Linked DNA regions of Homo sapiens: region 1 is linked to region 2. Evidence: promoter capture Hi-C in 16 types of primary human blood cells and fetal thymus (Javierre and others, 2016). All regions are on one chromosome and are shown on one strand. The core of a region is centred on a gene start or on the middle of the fragment in contact, and the rest is flanking DNA. Distances in the headings are between cores, read along the strand shown.

Region 1 (3,993 bases), core at 128-2,627, 160 kb before region 2:
TGTCGAAGAACACGGTGGGGTTGACCATGGCTGATAGTACAGAGTTCCTGGTGGCGGCAGTGTCTGCAAAGCTTCTCTCTCTCTTTTTCAAGAAATAGGGTCTCACTCTGTCACCCAGGCTGGAGTTCAGTGGCACAATCATAGCTCATTGCAGCAGCCTCGAACTCCTGACCTCAAGCGATCCTCCTGCCTCAAACTCCTGAGTAGCCGGGACTAGAGGTGTGTGCCTCCATGCTTGGTTAATTTATTATTATTATTTGTAGAGATGGGATATGGCTTTGTTGCCCGGTCTGTTCTCAAACTCCTGGTCTCAAGCGAGGATCCTCCCTCCTGGGCCTCCCAAAGTGTTGGGATTACAGGCATGAGCCACCATGTCTGGCCAATGCCTCCATTTCTGAGGTGGACAGTCTCACTGCCCAGAGGAGTGTCTGGCTGGCCTTCATTTGTTAAAGAGCATCTCAACAGAAGGGGGCCCACCCATTGGAGGTGGTTCAGCTAAGTCTGGAGGCCCACCAATTGGTAGTGGTTGAGCTAAGTCTGGACATTCAGACATGGTGGGCCAGGTGCTTGTTAGAACCCCTTGGAAGCAAGAATGGCTGAGTAAACCAGGATTTTGTTGCAGAATGGAGTTGGTCCTGAATTCTCACTGTTAGAGTCACCAGCTGGGGAACCCTTCCAGCAGCCCCCAGGATCAATGACTAAAATGAAGTGGGCAGGCCTGGGGAGCTGGGAATGATGCAGGTGTATCCAAGCTCTGAAGGCAACCTCTACAAGCCAGTGCCAGTGGGAGGAGGCAGACAGACATCCTCCAGGAGCCTGTTGGGGCTAGAGGGAGTCGCCATGTCCCCAGTATGCTACCAGGGTAGCAGGGGCATCAGCAGCAGCATCACTGGATGGCCTCTTCTTCCATCCTCTGGCGTTTCACAGACTCACCATGAATGGGACAGATTTCATGACCACTCAGGGACTTTTCAGAAATCTAGGAGCAGGGATGACCCTGTACCTTTTTCAGGTCTGAAAGCAAGAAACACCCCATGGGCTGACAGCCCCCACCAGGGAAAGGACAGCTGTATGCAGCATCTTCCTCCTTAACTGGGCACAGATCCCAGGGGCTGGAGAAGGAGTGTTGACACCTAGGGGCTGGCCACACTGAGATGCCAAACTCCCCAACTTCTGGGAGGAAATGCATATAATGGATACAGGTATGTTTGAAAATATGCTCATAATGAGTACATATGTGTTTGAATGTATGCGTTGTGAGTACATGTGTGTGCATTTGTGTGAGTCTGTGTGAGAGCATGAGTGAAAGTGTGTGATATATGAAGCCAGCCTGATGGGGTTTGGTGGCATTGCTAGAAGCCCCTGAGAGGAAGGGAAAATGTGTGTGTGTGTGTGTGTGTGTGTGTGTGTGTGTGTGTGTGTCTGGGAGTGAGTAGGGTGTATGTGTCTATGTGAGTGTAAGGATACATAACTGTGAGTGTGTGTCTTAGTCCAAGGCGGCTGCTATAATGGAATGCACACATTCAAACCACACATAATCTATCTGGCTGTTCTTATGCACCAGTCCTTGCAATGAATAGCATGTATGTTTGAATGTGTGCATATAATGGGTACGTGTATGTTTGAATTCATGCATATAATGGATACATGTATGTTTGAATATGTACACATAATGGGCACACATATGTTTGAATGTGCATTGTGTATATGTGTGTGTACATTTGTGTGAGTCTGTGTAAGTGCATGAGTGAATGCGTAGGATATATAAATATATGTGTATGTGAGCTTTGAATGTGTGCATTTGTAAGTATGTGTATATGTGTGAGTGTGTGTTTGAATGTGTGAGGTGGTGTGCATGGATTGAGAGCATGCGTGAGATCCTGATTTACTATTCTTTAAGAAAGAGCTAATTCTCAAGAATAAGAACAATGGAAGGAGGACATATTAGAAGGAGAGTCACAGGGCAGAAATTCAGAAATCCAGGATGGATTGAGGGGCTCAGGGAGGAGGAGGGAGAAATAAATGGTAGCCAGGGTGCTGCGTGAATAAGCTATAGACCTATTTTAGTAGATGCCAGTAGTGGGAAATTTGGAGAGAGAAAGAGATGTCCGGTGAGGATTTTCAGAAAATTTCCATGAAAAGATTTGTCTAAAGCCCCTGGGCCTACCTTTTGACGAAGCCGATATGAAAGATTTACATGAGTATACATTGCAAGGACTGGTCCATGAGAACAGCCAAATATATTCAGGTTATACAAGGGAATAAAGGCCTAGTGGCCATTTCTCCAGGACATCCTACTGTGTAAATTCCAAAGGACACCCAGAGAAGCTCGATATAGATTTGTAAAAAGATAACGTTTTGAATGTCCATTGGGATATGATGAGTTTCTAAGAAAGAAGCCCAAGGGGGTGGAACAGCTGTTCGCCTATGACCATTGGCCCGATACCTCCCCAGGGAGCATGGCGGTGCATGGGAATGACATTTGATAGGAACCGCAAAGACACAGCCACATTCATCAAAATATGTTCAGCTGTTTGCATTCACTCTGGCTCAGACATTAGAGGAGATTTCCTGGCTTATGTGACTGAAAGGCCAGAGGCAGAGTGGGTGCCAGCATGGGTTTCATTTAGTGAGTCCAGTGTCATGAGGGTTTCTTCCTATCTCTGCTTTGCTTTCTGTGATGAAAGCTTTATCCCCAGGACGGCTCCTCTTCCTGGGTCCACATCATCTCTTCCACACCACCTGGGTAAACAGGGAGACACTCTGGCCCAAGATGTCAAGGGTGAGTCCTGAGATCCACCTGGCAGACAGTAATGACCATGGACGGGGACCAGCAAGGTTCAGACACCTGCTGAGTTTGGATCTGTGGCCTTTGGGTTCTAGAGGACTCAGCCCCAGTAGCAGCAGGATTTTTTTTTTTTTTTGGAGACGGAGTTTCACTCTGTCACCCAGGCTGGTGTGCAGCGGCGCGATCTCAGCTCACTGCAACCTCCACTTCTGGAGTTCAAGGGATTCTTCTGCCTCAGCCTCCCGAGTAGCTGGGATTACAGATGCCCGCCACCATGCTTGACTAATTTTTATATTTTTAGTAGAGATGGGGTTTCAGCATGTGAGCCAGGCTGATCTCGAGCTCCTGACCTCAAGTAATCCACCTGCCTCGGCCTCCCAAAGTGCTGGGATTACAGGCGTGAGCCACCGCACCCAGCCTAAGGCTGGCTTATTTTCCTGGCTCTGCCCCTACTAAACACCATAGGGGACTCCTGCTCCTGGAATGATCAGAGCCACCTTGGGGCCAGCTGCCCCTCTGCAGCACAGATGCTGAGCTGGGGACTCAGAGAAGGACATCAGTGATAGCCATCTTCTTCCCAAGAAGGCGCTGGTGCAGGGCGATGGTGGAGATACCCCTGAATTTCTGAGCTGTGGGCTCACAAGGTTGGGGGTGCAGAATGAATGAGGGGTGGGACCCAGTGTATATGAGGAGGCAGCCTGGATTTTGAATCCCAAGCTTGGAGGACACAGATCATCTGTTTTTGCAGTCTGACATCTGAAGCCCTGTCCTAGGCATTCCCAAAGCCCCTCCTTAAGCATCTTGGTGAGCAGTGGGGACACCTCCCACTCTAGGAACTGAAAACACGAGGTCTTCCATTCCCAGCATGTCTTGCAGCCTGAGCATGTGACCTGAGCTCAGCCAATCAGAGACGTCTGCTCTTCCTGGGCACTCCTTCCGGTGGTGGTGGTCACGTGGACCATGTTGTCTCGGGGCAGCCATGCCTTTCCCAAATTCAAATGTGTGGACTCTCTAGTACCCTGCCCATCAGTTCCCTTCTGTCTAATTAACAATCCAACTCTGTTGCTTGCGACTCATAAGCTGGCTGATACGAAAGGGAATGCAGCCCACCAAAGTCAGCCTGGGGATGTCGAAGGGGGTCCAGGGAGCAGGGCTGGACACCCCAGGACAGGGCAGCCAGGAGAGGATCCTGGGTCAAATGTAGG
Region 2 (4,176 bases), core at 797-3,296:
CACTGCTTTCTTTGTTCAGGAGGAAATTAGAATTCTGGAAAGATACTTGATTTTGTTTAATTATTAAAGGAACAAGCTTCTACTTCAAGTAGTTGCAAATATGAATGTATCAGTCTGTGTGTCAAGAAAGGATATATGGAACAATACAGGAACGATAATACTCTATTGTCACATCCAATTAAGGGCCACCTAGGTCTACAAGTAAAGAGGAACATCAAAGCTATGAGTGAAAATGGAAAAGTCACATCGTTATCTGAATAATTTTGAAAACGTCTGGATTTGGTGCCTTATGAATCATCTGAAATGTAACAAGGCATAAAGTGCTTTGCAACCCTGTTGCCTTCATTATTGTAATTTGTGCATATGTAGGTTTATTTGAACTTTTTCGAGTTTTCATCCAGCTGAAAAAGGATGTAGGAAGAATGAGTCCAGTCAAGGTCATACTTAACAAGGTGAAACTGACACCTCCTGGGGATGCAGGCTAACAGAAACATGAGCCCATTACTCACCCCAAATCTCCCATCCATACCTTTTTCTGCTAATGAATATTCTTACCTGAACCATCATTACTTCCATTGTCCTCTGCTTTGGATACCTTGCAGACCAGGTTCCTGTCTCTCATTTTTATCCACGAAGAGATTTTCAAGAATAGAACTTTTCTTATAATTTAGCAATAATGTCCTTGAAAACCCCACAACTATTTACATAATAGAAGCTATTGTTTGAAGTGCAAAGCAGGTCAGAATTTGGTTTCTAGAGATTAATCACTGCAGTCTAGTTTATATTATCATAATAATTTCATTTATTTTGGTACAATTTGCTTTCAGAATCAACCTCGGCTTCTGCGCACAAGTGACAAATCCATTTGTTTGTGGTATAATGGATAACGTGATTAATGACCTTGCAACAGGATTTCTTAAAAACATAGAGAGGAAAAGAAATAAAGATTTCCATTTATAAATGTGCAGTAAACCAGCTCAGTCTGTAGCTGTGCACCAAAATCCCTCTGAACTTGTTTTAAGCCACAGATTTGGAGAGATTCTGAAACAAATTTGCTCCTGACTTTTGGGGGTTTCTGCTCATATCTGCTGTCTCCAAGAAGCTGAGGGCAGTGGCCTCACTTCGAGGAAGTGGTGACACTGCGGGCCCTCCTGGTTACAAGGACCGGGCACTGTTGGACCACGTGGCTCCATCATGATGACTCCAGTTAGATGTCACCCCGCCCCTGAGCTCAGGTCTTGCTGAATAAGGTCACCGCCCAGGGGGCAGTCGATGAACACGCGCGCGAGGGCTCTGCGAGTGGCCTCGTGACTTTGTCCCTAACTCCGGGTGTCCCCTCCTTCCCATCAGCGTCCGGCGCCTGGTCCTGGTCCCGGTCCCCGAGGCCCCCGGGATTCTTCCCGAGCGTTTTCCGAGTTGGCGCGGGGGGTGGAGGCGGGGCCATGGAGCGCGTCCCGGGGACCGTTGCATCCGGAGGCGGCCGTCGTGCGGCTCCTTCCCGCCTCGAGAGTGAGGTGGCCGGGCCTTGACGAGAAGGCCCACGCCTGCCGCGGGGGTGGCTCGCGATGGCAGTCGGGGTTCGAGTCCCGCCTGGGGGGCTGCTCCTGCTGGAGAAAACGCCTCCCTGAGGGCGGCGGCAAACGCGCAGCGAGGCCCCGTGCCGCGCCAGAAGCCACCCTGAGAAAGGGGCACCGGGACACCGAGGGGTTCCCACTTTCTCCTCAGCCTGTGACGCCCGCGTCCTCGGGTGGGTTCGAGGGGCGCCTGGGCACGGCCAGCCGAGGCTCTCGAGAGCCCCAGTGTCGTTTTCCACCTCAGGCCTCCTTTCCTGAGGCAGAGCCCGGGACCTCGCGCTCTCGCCTCAGGCTCCGGCCCACGCTCCCGCCCGGCCGCCAGGCGCGCAACGGAAAGCGCCCCCGCCCCGCCCCGCTCCGCCCACTGCGTGACGCGCACCCGGCCGAGCCAATCAGAGCTCGTGGCGCGCGCCCCACACGCCGGCCCCCTCCGCCCCTCAGCTTAAGAAAGGGCGCGCGGACCCGGCAGGCCAGAGTGCCGAGCAGCGCGGTGGGTGCGGCTGTGAGACGGCAGGAGACTTCTGCCCCGCGGTGCACGCGACCCTCGAGACGACAGCGCGGCTACTGCCAGCAGCGAAGGCGCCTCCCGCGGAGCGCCCCGACGGCGCCCGCTCGCCCATGCCGAGCTGAGCGCGGCAGCGGCGGCGGGATGCTGGCGCTGCTGGCCGCCAGCGTGGCGCTCGCCGTGGCCGCTGGGGCCCAGGACAGCCCGGCGCCCGGTAGCCGCTTCGTGTGCACGGCACTGCCCCCAGAGGCGGTGCACGCCGGCTGCCCGCTGCCCGCGATGCCCATGCAGGGCGGCGCGCAGAGTCCCGAGGAGGAGCTGAGGGCCGCGGTGCTGCAGCTGCGCGAGACCGTCGTGCAGCAGAAGGAGACGCTGGGCGCGCAGCGCGAGGCCATCCGCGAGCTCACGGGCAAGCTAGCGCGCTGCGAGGGGCTGGCGGGCGGCAAGGCGCGCGGCGCGGGGGCCACGGGCAAGGACACTATGGGCGACCTGCCGCGGGACCCCGGCCACGTCGTGGAGCAGCTCAGCCGCTCGCTGCAGACCCTCAAGGACCGCCTGGAGAGCCTCGAGGTAGCGGCCCGCGGGGAGCGCGGGGGACCTGGAATGGGGACGCTCCCGAGTCGGGGGCGGAAGACTCGGGAGGATGGGGAAAGGGGGCCTGGCCCTGGGGAGGGTGTGATCGTCCGTGGGGGTGAGCTGGACTTGAGGGTGAAAGGCGGGGATCTAGATCCTGCTCGGGAACTCCCCTGCGTGGTATCCCTTCCCACACCGCTGCTCTTGCTGGAAGGAAACGTTTAAATTCCACCCCCGCGCGTCGGGACTGCCAGCGGGATCCGCCGAGCACTTCCCGAGGTCCGGGCTAGCGAACCCAGACGGCCAAGCCGCGGGCGCCAAATACCCGGGGACGCGGTAGCCTCTATCCTCTTGCAAATCTCCAAATCTCCGCGAGCCGGGATGCGCTCCCGCAGGCCGTGCGGGTTGCTGCGAGGCTGCCGCGGGAGGTCAGCTGCCCCGGGCATGTGGTGTTTCTTTCTTTAAATCAGGTCAGGCTGAGCTAGAGGGGGCGGAAGTCTGGGGGCGGAGGTCGCAGGGAGGCGAGCGCAGGGGGTCACCGGCGACCCCAGAGCGCGCATTAGAGGGGCAACCTCTGGTTAACTTCAAAGACTCCCGTGTCTGCAAGTTGGACCATTTTAAGGTGCTCTTCCGGATTGCTTCAGGGGAAGGGACCTCATTCCCTTCTCTCTCTCTCTCTCCCCCCCTCCCCCCCTCCCCCTCCGTCCCCCCCCCCCGCCCCCCGCTCCCGCCTCCGTCTCATCTCTATCTCTGAAAATGCGTGCAGTTTGGAACTTTGAGAGAAAAATCTTCAATTATTTTTCATCTTTAGGCTCCACCCTTTTTAAGAAGTGTGGACACTGCTGTTAATAGCCTTTGTGAAAATACTTCTCAGCAAAACTAGGTTTAAATTACAGGTGGTAATTATTGCAAAAATGACTCTAGGGTTTCTTTTGGCGTGAGGGCTGAATACAGTATTTCCAGCATCTGTATATCCCCTGATTCATTGTGATTGCTAACAGCTAACATTTCTGGAGCACTAAATATGAGTCAGGCACATCATTTAATTTTTTAATCCTTGGAACAATGAATGGCATGAGGCAGGTCCCATTATGTGCATTTCACAATTTGGAACACTTTGTGGAGAAAGGTAAATAGCTTGCCATGAACTCATGGGTAGGCAGCCTGCCACAGCCTCCAGAACCACATGATGGTAGGGGAGAAAGAGAAATAGGAAGTGAGGATTTAGAAACAGCATTAAAAACAAAGATTGCTGGAGTTCAGAATAGCAACGTTTTAGATCTGTCATTTTCCAGAAACATCTCTGCATGCATAGTTATTTACCTTGGTGCCAGACCGGAACTTGGGGGCTGTTTTCATTTCTAGGTGAAAGCTCCTTGGCTTTGTGTAACCATCGATTTACTCTTAAAAAAGAAAAAAAATCCTGGAGCTGAGTTTTGGTCTCTACCCAACATAGAATTCTAGGCGTTGGTTAGAATATTGACTTTTTAGTAAGAGGAGAAAAACGGCTTTTTGAGAAGGGAA

The links. The method cuts DNA at HindIII sites, captures the fragments that hold promoters and counts their contacts. A CHiCAGO score of 5 or more calls a contact.
Region 1: a contact is called between a fragment that was not itself captured here and the fragment with the promoter of NPTX2 in region 2, in 1 of 17 cell types (naive B cells). The highest score is 5.2, in naive B cells.

Annotation. Positions count from the first base shown.
Region 1 is chr7:98,454,579-98,458,571 of GRCh38, forward strand. It overlaps the pseudogene PPIAP82. Among named protein-coding and RNA genes, the nearest start is that of BAIAP2L1, 55 kb to the left of the region's middle. The HindIII fragment of the contact is 2,616 bases long and covers 70-2,685 here.
Region 2 is chr7:98,615,239-98,619,414 of GRCh38, forward strand. NPTX2 (neuronal pentraxin 2) reads left to right here and starts at 2,047. Exons shown (of 5, transcript NM_002523.3): 1 at 2,047-2,649. The coding sequence starts at 2,224. RefSeq lists an enhancer at 2,875-3,501. The HindIII fragment of the contact is 4,236 bases long and covers 75-4,176 here.